3 separate regions of the Homo sapiens genome follow, and regions 1 and 2 are each linked to region 3. Evidence: promoter capture Hi-C in 16 types of primary human blood cells and fetal thymus (Javierre and others, 2016). All regions are on one chromosome and are shown on one strand. The core of a region is centred on a gene start or on the middle of the fragment in contact, and the rest is flanking DNA. Distances in the headings are between cores, read along the strand shown.

The links. Contacts are between HindIII fragments. The CHiCAGO score rates a contact against its expected background, and 5 or more counts as called.
Region 1: a contact is called between a fragment that was not itself captured here and the fragment with the promoter of LSM14A in region 3, in 2 of 17 cell types (monocytes and erythroblasts). The highest score is 6.4, in monocytes.
Region 2: a fragment that was not itself captured here is called in contact with the fragment with the promoter of LSM14A in region 3 in 1 of 17 cell types (naive CD4 T cells); the score reaches 5.5 in naive CD4 T cells.

The regions. Positions count from the first base shown.
Region 1 is chr19:33,820,371-33,823,540 of GRCh38, reverse strand. No RefSeq gene overlaps it. Among named protein-coding and RNA genes, the nearest start is that of KCTD15, 25 kb to the right of the region's middle. RefSeq lists enhancers at 2,213-3,170, 3,086-3,170. The HindIII fragment of the contact is 5,420 bases long and covers 1-3,170 here.
Region 2 is chr19:34,454,660-34,458,052 of GRCh38, reverse strand. All of the region lies in intron 12 of UBA2 (ubiquitin like modifier activating enzyme 2), which reads right to left. Among named protein-coding and RNA genes, the nearest start is that of WTIP, 25 kb to the left of the region's middle. The HindIII fragment of the contact is 4,092 bases long and covers 1-3,342 here.
Region 3 is chr19:34,170,809-34,174,360 of GRCh38, reverse strand. LSM14A (LSM14A mRNA processing body assembly factor) reads right to left here and starts at 1,857. Exons shown (of 10, transcript NM_015578.4): 1 at 1,598-1,857. The coding sequence starts at 1,718. The HindIII fragment of the contact is 4,496 bases long and covers 917-3,552 here.

The sequences.
Region 1 (3,170 bases), core at 39-2,538, 350 kb after region 3:
TAAGGGAGCCCCTTCACACTGTTCACAATGTCAGCTTCCAGGCCCAGGGCAGGGGGCAGGGTAAATGGGAGATGTCCAGCATACTGTCCAAAATAGCAACACACACACTCCTATTCCCCTTCCTTGCTTTATTTTTAGCACTATTTAACCTATGACACATTTTACTTATTTTTGTTATTGGGTTTTTGTTGTTTATTTTTTGTTTTTCTTTTTTGAGACAGGGTCTTGCTCTGTCACCCAGGCTGGAGTTCAGTGGCGTGATCATAGCTCACTGCAGCTTCAACAGCCTCAAGCAATCCTCTCACTTCAGCCTCTGGATTAGCTGAGACCACAGGTGCATGCCACCACACCTGGCAAATTTTTTTTTTTTTTTTTTTTTTTTTGGAGAGATGAGGTTTCCCTATGTTGCCCAGGCTGGTCTCAAACTCCTGGGCTCAAGCGATCCTCCCACCTGGGCCTCTCAAAGTGCTGGGATTATAGGTGTGACCCACCGCACCCAGCCTTACTTTTGTTTCTTGTCCATCTCTCTTCACTGGAGTGTAAGCTCCACAAGATTGGGGCTTTTCTGTATTCATTCACTACTATATCCTAGTGCCTGAAAGAGGGCATGTGTTCAATAACAATTGTTTGAGTAGATAAAGTTGCTACCTAGATGTGGCAGGCAGAATAATGCCACCAAATATGTCCACATCCTAAACCTGGGATCTGTGAGTATCTTAGGTTATGTGGCAAAGGGGTTTAAGATTGCCAATGGAATTAAGGTGAATTAGTAGACCTTAAAATAGGGAGATTATCTGCAGGGTGGAGGGTGGGCAATGGAATCACTAGAGTCCAGAAAAACAAGGGTGAGGGGATCTAAAGATGCTACACTTCTGGTTTTGGGGATGAAGGAAGGGACCACAAGCTACAGAATGAAGGCAGCCTCTAGAAGCTGGAAAGGACAAGGAAAGATTCTCCCCTAGAGCTCCAGAAAGGAGAGCAGCTCTGTTGACACCTTGATTTTAGCCCAGTGTGACCCATGTCAGACTTCTGACATCTGGAACTGTAAGATGAAAATATATCATCTTAAAATCAGTGTTGGGCTAGGCATGGTGGCTCACACCTGTTATCCCAGCACTTTGAGAGGCCAAGGTGGGAGGATCGCTTGAGTCCAGGAGTTCAAGACCAGCCTGGGCATCATAGGGAGACCTGTCTCTACAAAAAGAAAAAGAAAAAAAAATAGTATTTTTCTAAGCCACATTAGTGGTAACTTGTCATAGCCACAAGAGGAAACCAATACACTGATCTCTGTTCTTAATCCAGGAGCACAGGCTCTGGAGCCAGTTGAGGCTGCTTTTTGGCTCTTCCTTAGGGAGAGAGCTTGCACCTTCTTTTTCTGTGTAAATGAAACTATTAAATATTGTTTCTTCCTGGGGAGGGTGGGAAGTGGGTGGTGTTAGATGTCAGGGTTTGGAGAGCTGGTGATTCATGGGACACTCACGACTCAGAGCCTGGCCTCCAGTAACCAGGCTGATTGTAGACACTCAGTAGATATTTGTGGAAGGATAAATGTATTTCATCAACTGATGTTCCATAATCGATTTCATCTCTCCTGGTTTTAGGACACTAAGGGGCCCCCTTCCTTTCTTTGCCAATAGTAAATACAATTTGAGAATCTGTGCATACAGGGGTGCTTTTGTTTTTGTTTTGAAATTAGTTTTCTGGCTGGGTGCCGTGGTTCACACCTGTAATCTCAGCACTTTGGGAAGCCAAGGAGGGTAGATCACTTGAGGTCAGGAGTTCAAGACCAGCCTGTCCAACATGGTGAAACCCCATCTGTACTAAAAACACAAAAATTCATGCTCACTTCAGCAGCACATATACTAAAAACACAAAAATTAACTAGGCGTGGTTGTGGGCGCCTGTAATCCCAGCTACTCGGGAGGCTGAGGCAGGAGAATCACTTGAACCTGGGAGGTGGAGGTTGCAGTGAGCCAAGATCACACCAATGCACTCCAGCCTGGGTGGCAGAGCAAGACTCCATCTCAAAAATAAATAAATAAATAAATAAATAAATAAATAAATAAATAAATAAAATAATTAGTCTTCTATTTCTTCAAAGCAAGAGCCTCGCCAGGCTGCAAGGCTGGTGCTCTCCACACATGTAGTGTGTATGGTAGTCAGCTGCCTTCTGTGCAGGGCTGCTCACTCACCCGGCAGCTGGGCACTCCTTGGCACAGGAGCCCCCCACGTGGCTAGCCAGGCTGGGGCTGGAAGGTGGGAGTGGAGAGGAGGCAAACTAGAGGCTGTGTGGGAAGGTGCTTTGATGAATTCCCTCCCTGGGCTGGGCTTCTACACGGGTTCCTCCACCTGGGCATGGGAACTGGGGGAGGCTAAAGGGAGGGAGAAGGAGGAGTGCCAGTGGTGGTGCCGGAAGCCTCTCCCTGATGCAAGAGAAGCCTTGAGGCCAGTTCAGCAACTCAGAGCGGTGCTGGCCAGGGCGAGAGCATCGAAACCTCCCTCCCTCCCTCCTGATGCGCGTTCAGGATCTGCAGTCCGGAGGCTGCACACCACAACCTATGCAGGGCAGTGTGGGTTTCCCCAGACGTCTGGGGAGGTGGGAGAGCCTGGGCCTTGAGAGGGCAGGGAACTGAGGAAGCAAAAAAGCAGCTGCAGCCTTCTGCAGCCCGCTCTCCAGGTGGCACCCAAGCCCACCTCTGTGCTCCTGGGAGCTTGGTGCCCCTAAAACCCTCAAGGTTGCAACTCAGAGAGGATTGGGAAGCAAAGCCAGCAGGAGAACAAAGGATGCTTTGCCGGAAAGGGAGGCACCTTCCACGAAGGCCTCCGGGGCCTGGGGAAGTGACTCACTGGGCCCGGGGATGGACCCACCCATGGGGGCTCCGCGGGCCCACAATAGACCCATAGGATAGGAAAGGCACTGTCAGCCTCCGGCCTCTGGCGGGCGCCTCCCAGCCCACCCCCGCGAGATCTGGTCTGCGTCCAGCCCGGGGCCCCTGGGGATAGGCCCTGTTCTCGTTAGGCTCTGCCAGTCGGGACCGCCACCGCCGCTGCTGCCACCTGGGGCTGTGGGCGCGGCCCCTTCCGCCAGCCCTCCCTCCCCTTGGCCCTGCGGGGACCCGGGCTCCCCAGTTCTCGGCAGAGCCACACTACTCCTCTGCCAGAGCGAGGCC
Region 2 (3,393 bases), core at 47-2,546, 280 kb before region 3:
AATTTCTCCAGTTAACGATAGTGCCTTTCACAGTTGTCTAGAATCAACATCACTGCCTTCCCAAATTTTCTGATTAGAATAACATTTATATAATGAGGGAAAAAAATGTATTTCTGGCAGTATATGTACCTATTTACCATTTCTCTAATACTAAACAAAAAAATAATTAAGAACCAAGGCAAATATACAAATTACACTGAAATTAAGAAAAGCTCCAAGCTCCTGCTTCTACTAAAGTTTAGAAAACACTAGCAAGATCCAACAGAAACAACAAATGTCAGAAGACAAGAAGCTGAGACACAAACCTTTATCTTGTGACTACAATGTAGTGTTGAGTCTGCTAAGAGGAATGAATTCTAAAGGAGTACTCTACGGATTCCCCTGAGAATACAGAACTAAATCCCTCAAGAGACACTAAAGCCGTCCTCTGTAAAATAGCTTCTCCGTACAATGAATACTGGTAGGTGGAAGGGCTAGAAGCAAACTGCCCAGGCCAAGCAGGCTACAGAGGGAGAAAGATTTGTTTGATTTTGGGCTTCACCGGGAAGGTAAGTGTGCTAAGGGAAACTGACAATAATAAAAGCAATTGCTACCACTATTAATACCTGGGCTAACATTAATCCAGGCTGGAATTCATTTGCAAATGTAAAAAAATGAAATCCAGATATATTACTATATTTTTTCTTGAGGCAGAGTTTCGCTCTTGTTGCCAGGCTGGAGTGCAATGGCGCGATCTCGGCTTAATGCAACTTCCGCCTCCCAGGTTCAAGTGATTCTCCTGCCTCAGCCTCCTGAGTAGCTGGGATTACAAACATGCACCACCATGCCCAGCTAATTTTATATATATATATATATATATATATATATATATATTTTTTTTTTTTTTAGTAGAGACCAGGTTTCTCCACGTTAGTCAGGCTAGTCTCGAACTTCCAATCTCAGGTGATCTGCCTGCCTCGGCCTCCCAAAGAGCTGGGATTACACGTGTGAGCCATCGTGCCCGGCCAGATATATTACTATTAATAGTCCAAGAGTGGCATGGAGCTAAGCAGGCAAAGAAACCGGAAGGATGTGATGGGAAATAACAGACATTTTAATAAGTTCAGTAATTAGTACTGTTGGTGAGCTCAAAGGGATACTACAGCTTCAGGCTGCTATAAAAAATTTTTTTTAAATAATTTAAAAACTGGGTATCGGCCAGGAACGGTGGCTCACTCCTGTAATTCTAGCACTTTGGGAGGCCAAGGTGGGCAGATCACCTGAGGTCAGGAGTTCATGACCAGCCTGGCTAACATGGTAAAACCCTGTCTCTCCTAAAACTACAAAAATTAGCCAGGCGTGGTGGCACCCGCCTGTAATCCCAGCTACTGGGGAGGCTGAGGCAGGAGAATCACTTCTACTTGGGAGGTGGAGGTTGCAGTGAGCTGAGATCGCGCCACTGCACTCTAGCCTGGGTGACAGAGCAAGACTCCATCTCAAAAAAAAGATACCAAAAAATAAAGTTCTTAGAAATTAAAAATATAACATATACAATAAAAGTTTAAATAGAAAACTAAATCAAGATGGCAGACTGGGCAATTTGATTCTGTTCCTTCAAACTGAAATTTCATGAAAATAAAATATTTTAAGAGTGCATCGAGGCTGGGCGCAATAGCTCACGCCTGAAATCCCAGTACTCTGGGAGGCTGAGAAGGGCGGATCACTTCAGGCCAGGAGTTTGAGACCAATCTGGGCAACAGGTGAAACACCGTCTCTACTAATAATACAAAAATTAGCCAGGTGTGGTGGCATGTGCCAGTAATCCCAGCTACTTGAGAGGCTGAGGCAGGAGAATCGCTAGAACCCAGCAGGTGGAGGTTGCAGTGAGCCGAGATCACATCACTGTACTCCACTGTACTCCAGCCTGGGTGAGAGCAAGATTCCACCTCAAAAAAAAAAAAAAAAAAGAAAAAGAAAAGGAAAAAAAGAGCGCATCGGGCCAAGTGCAGTGGCTCACACCTGTAATCCCAGCACTTTGGGGGGCCAAGGTGGGAGGACTGCTTGAGCCCAGGAGTTCAGGACCAACCCGGACAACATAGCAAGACCCCATCAGTTTAAAAAAAAAAGGCCGGGCGCAGTGGCTCATGCCTGTATGCCTGTAATCCCAGCACTTTGGGAGGCCGAGGTGGGCGGATCATGAGGTCAGGAGTTCGAGACCAGCCTAACCAACATAGTGAAACCCGTCTCTACTAAAAATACAAAAATTAGCCGGCATGGTGGCATGCACCTGTAATCCTAGCTACTGAGGAGGCTGAGACAGGAGAATCGCTTGATCCTGGGAGGTGGAGGTTGCAGTGAGCCAAGATTGTGCCACTGCACTCCAGCCTGGGCAACAGAGCTAGACTCCGTCTCAAAAGATAAAAAAAAGTAAGTGTGCATCAATGACACTGCAAAATAACAGTACCATTGCAAACTAGATATTTTTTGAAATTTCTGAAGGTAAACAGGTCTTTTTATTTCAATGATAAAAAGGAGAACCTAAACAACAGTCAAAGTATTGGCTAGTATTTCCTAGGAAGCCTTCTTGAGCTGGTAAGAAAGCGAAGTGTCTGCAGACACAACATCGAAGGAAGGAATCCAAAGAGAACATCCAAGTAGTGTTAGCCTTAAGAGATACACCTACCCCACCCACCACTAAGGTAGGAACTCTTAAAACAGGAGACCCTTACACAAAGCAAGGACCTGAAAAGAGAGGAGAAAAATACTTTCTCCATAAAAATGATCTTAAACTTGGTGCTTAGTGGAGGGGGAGGAGTATCTTCCCATATAATTCATGACAATAACATAGGGCACGTGCAGGTTTGTGGTCTGAATACATAGGTATTGAAAATCCTAATTTAAAAGTGGTCCTGTATTGGCAGTGCCCCAAGCACCCAAATATAATAACCACAAATGCTCTTTGAAGAAATACATCTACAATGGGTCCCTAAAGAATTACCAGACACAATTCTAATACACATTCAGTTTTTAAAAAATCATAAACCATACAAGCAAATCACTACGAGAAATAGCAGAAATGACAGCAGACTCACCCATAAAGATCTCAGACATTAACATTATCAAAAACTATACAATAAAATTGAAAAGAATGACTCAATAGGAGAATGACTGAACAGGGGACTATAAAATGACCAAGCAAATTTTAAAACCCATATAGCACTCTCAGAATTGAAAAACAGTTGAAACATCTTCTTAGTATAAGGACCGCACAATGAATTCTTCGAAGAATTCAGTAAAATTGGAAATGTTAAAAGCAAAAGCAACTTCTTAATTTTTCCTTTTTGTTGCAATTTCCAGGAAGCTTAAACACACACTCACTTGGTAACCAGAAAAATTACTTTTCCATTGCTTTAA
Region 3 (3,552 bases), core at 608-3,107:
ATCACCATCTCATACTACTCCTTTATGGTGTACAGTTCTGTAACATCAAAAGGTTCCCTACCCAGGTATAAGATTTGTCCCAACACCAGGGCTATTAAAAAGATTTACCAGAGGCTGGGCGCGGTGGCTCATGCCTGTAATCCCAGCACTTTGGGTGGCCGAGGCGGGTGGATCACCTGAGGTCAGGAGTTCGAGACCAGCCTGGCCAACATGGTGAAACCCCGTCTCTACTAAAAATACCAAATTAGCTAGGGGTGGTGGCAGGCGCCTATAATCCCAGCTACTTGGGAGGCTGAGGCAGGAGAATCACTTGAACCCGGGAGGCGGACGTTGCAGTGAGCCGAAATCATTGCCTTTGCACTCCAGCCTGAGCAAAAAGAGCTAAACTCCATCTTAGAAAAATAAATAAATAAATAAATAAATAAAGGATTTACCAGAGCATCCAAGAAATATTATTAAATACTTGATCCCGTGAAACCACTCCCCTATCTGTTAACGATTTTTAAAATTTTACAGATTTCGAAAATCTTCTTCTTTATCCTTGGACCTAACCTATCCACAGGGTCCCTAACCATGCTATGCAGTTCCCACCTCTACCAGAAGTGCTGGGAAAATCACCTAGGTTATCTAGCTTCCCTCAAAGTATTTTACACTGTTGTGAGATTTCCTTTAAGATTCAGGAGCTAAAGTTTATTTTCTTTCTGGTTTCCTGGCGGAGCAAAGGCCCTGCACGTGTGAACGGAAACAAAACCCACACAGACTCTAGGGATGCCAAATATTAACACTGTGGGTAGGGGCACCTTCCTTCTCGGCCGAATTCCCTTTCCCAGAGAGCCTCCAGAGGGATCAGTCAACGCCCACTGAGCCTGGATCAAAGGTCAAGCTTGCCTGGTCAAGAAGGATCCTGGATCAAGCTTGAACCCGTTTCCAGAAACAGGGGCGTCGGGGCAGCAGCAAGCATTTTTACCACGCGCCCTAATGAGGTGGTTGCACAACAGGCTTTGAGGATTCCGGTTTAACAGGTAAATACCAACAGAGGATGAGCCGAGGGAGATGGGATCTGCTCCACGGCATCGATGGCATTTCGAGAATGTCTGCGTCGCAGAGCAAACCCAAAGTTTTAGCACATTACTCAAGAGTTCACCAGAGGAAGATCGCCACGAATTGAAATGAACAAAGTGAGAAAATGGGTGCTGTGTAGTCAACGCATCCGCGATGAACTCAAGCTGGGCGGAAAAATTCTTTGAATACTCCGGCTTTGTTTTGTGCTAAGACGGCAGAAGCCCCGAATTTCGGAGTTGGAAGACGCGTTTCTCCGTGTTCTCCGGCCCGTTCTCGGACTTCAGGGCCGCCCGCCGCGCACTCAGTCCCGTAGTTCCCCGGGCTTCAGGCGCGGACATTCCGGGGGGCGGAAACCAGGGAGCCGCGGGGAGGCCGCGGTCCGGCCCGCGACGCCGGGGCCCGGAGAAGGGAGGCGAGAGGCCTCCCGGAGCTCGACGGAGGGAGGGGAGGGAACGAGGAGGCCGCGGGCCGGAGCGGGGAGCAGCCCCGAGCGGCGCCCGGCTCGGCCCCCACCCTGAGGCCCGGTCCCGCGTACCTTTGGCAAGGGCTACGGTGGAGTTTTCGGTGTCGATGGTGTAGAGGATGCCCTCGTAGCGGATCTCCGCCTTGGAGATGAGGCTGATCTTGCTGCCGATGTAAGGGGTGCCCCCGCTCATGGCGCCGCCGCCGCCGCTCCCAGCTGCTCGCAGAGAGGCAGATCCCACGCCACTGTCGCCCGCTCCGCACGCCCGCTCGCTCCGTCGGCGCCTACAGCAGCCGCTTCAGACCCAACATGGCGGCGGCGCCGGCTCCGCTACCCTCCCCCAGCCTCCCGCCCTCAAGCCGCGGCGCGGCGGCGGCGGCGGCGGCGGCAGCGGCGGCGGCGCGGGGCATGCTGGGAGGGCGAGGCCGCGCTCTCGCGAGACTTGGCCGGCTACTGGTGGCTCCCGGCTCATTCGTGGCCTCGGGAGTCCCGGCAGCGCTTGTTGGCCTGGACTACGGTGGTGGTCTTGGGGCCGCGTGAGAGGAACTTCGGGGACCGGCTGAGTGCCTCGTGGCACCCGCTTGCTGCGGGCTGGAGAGGAGGCGCGCGGCCTTCCTTTTGACTCAGGCCGTGGCCGCCTTGTCGTGGGTCCTGTGTCTTTGCCGACGCGGGGCCCTCGGCCTGGAGCGCTGCCCACCCGCCTCCGAGCTGTGGCGAGCCGCTGCTCATCCTTCTAAGACGCTGAACCTGCACCTCGTGGAGCTCCTACGGCTCCATTACCGCAGTCATCGCCCGGGGAGCTTCCCCCGAGGCTGCCCCTGGAGCTGGGGCTCTCACAAGGACTCAAGTGTTTCAGCCCCTTCCTGTCCCGCTCATTCAGCCGGTCTGAACCAGTTTCATGGCTTGCAACGCCATTGTAACTCACTAATCCCAATTATCAGTATGTAGCTTGGATCAATTCCGTGAACCAGGGTTTCTGTCGAATCTCAAACGTTAAGGGTCCAAAGCCATGCTCCCTGTTTCCCCTCTAACCTGCTCCTTCACCACCGTTCCCTATTTGATGTAAACGGTACCATTTTTACTCAGCTGCTCAGACTAAAAGCCGTGAGTCAGCCTTGCCCTGTCTTGCTTCCACATCTGTTCTGACTACACCTCTCCGTTATGTATACACAATATATCCTAAATCTGACTTCTCATCTCCATTCCTACACTTCTCCCACAAGCCACGATTACTCGGGCTGAATTATTGCAGTAGCCTTCTAAAAGTTGCCTCTGTGTCAACTCTTGCCCCCAGTACTTTATTCTCAATACAGCAGCCAGAGAGATCTTCTTAAAATCTAACTCAGGGCTGGGCGCAGTGGCTCACGCCTGTACTCCCAGTACTTTGGGGGCCCGAGGCGGGCGCATCACCGGTCAGGAGTTCGAGACCAGCCTGGCCAACATGGTGAAACCCCGTCTCTACTAAAAATATAAAAAAATTAGCCAGGCGTGGTGGCGCGCGCCTATAGTCTCAGCTACTTGGGAGGCTGAGGCAGGAGAATTGCTTGAACCCAGGAGGCGGAGGTTGTGGTGAGCCGAGATTGTGCCACTGCACTCCAGCCTGGGCGACAGAGCGAGACTCCGTCTCAAAAAAAAAAAAAAAAATCTAACTCAGATCATGTCCTTCCTCTACTCACTCTACTGATCCCATGTTACACAGAGAGAAAACCAGACTTTGGTGTCTAAGGATATACATGATTTAGCTTCTCGTTCTGTTCCAGTCGCGTCTAATTCAACCAGTACTTGAGCACTTTATTCCAGTCTCTGCTCAAGCATCACCTCCAGAGATGACGTCCCTGACAGCCTTGTTTAAAATAATACCACTCATCTCCTTAACTCAGCTTGTATTTTCTTTATAGCATGTATCTCTCTCAAGTATGTCTGTTTAATTATTTGTATGTATCTGTCTCCTTCACTAGAATGTAAACATTTTGAGATAGTGATGTTGTTTTGGTTGCTGCCGTATCATCAGGGGCCTAGTAACAGCA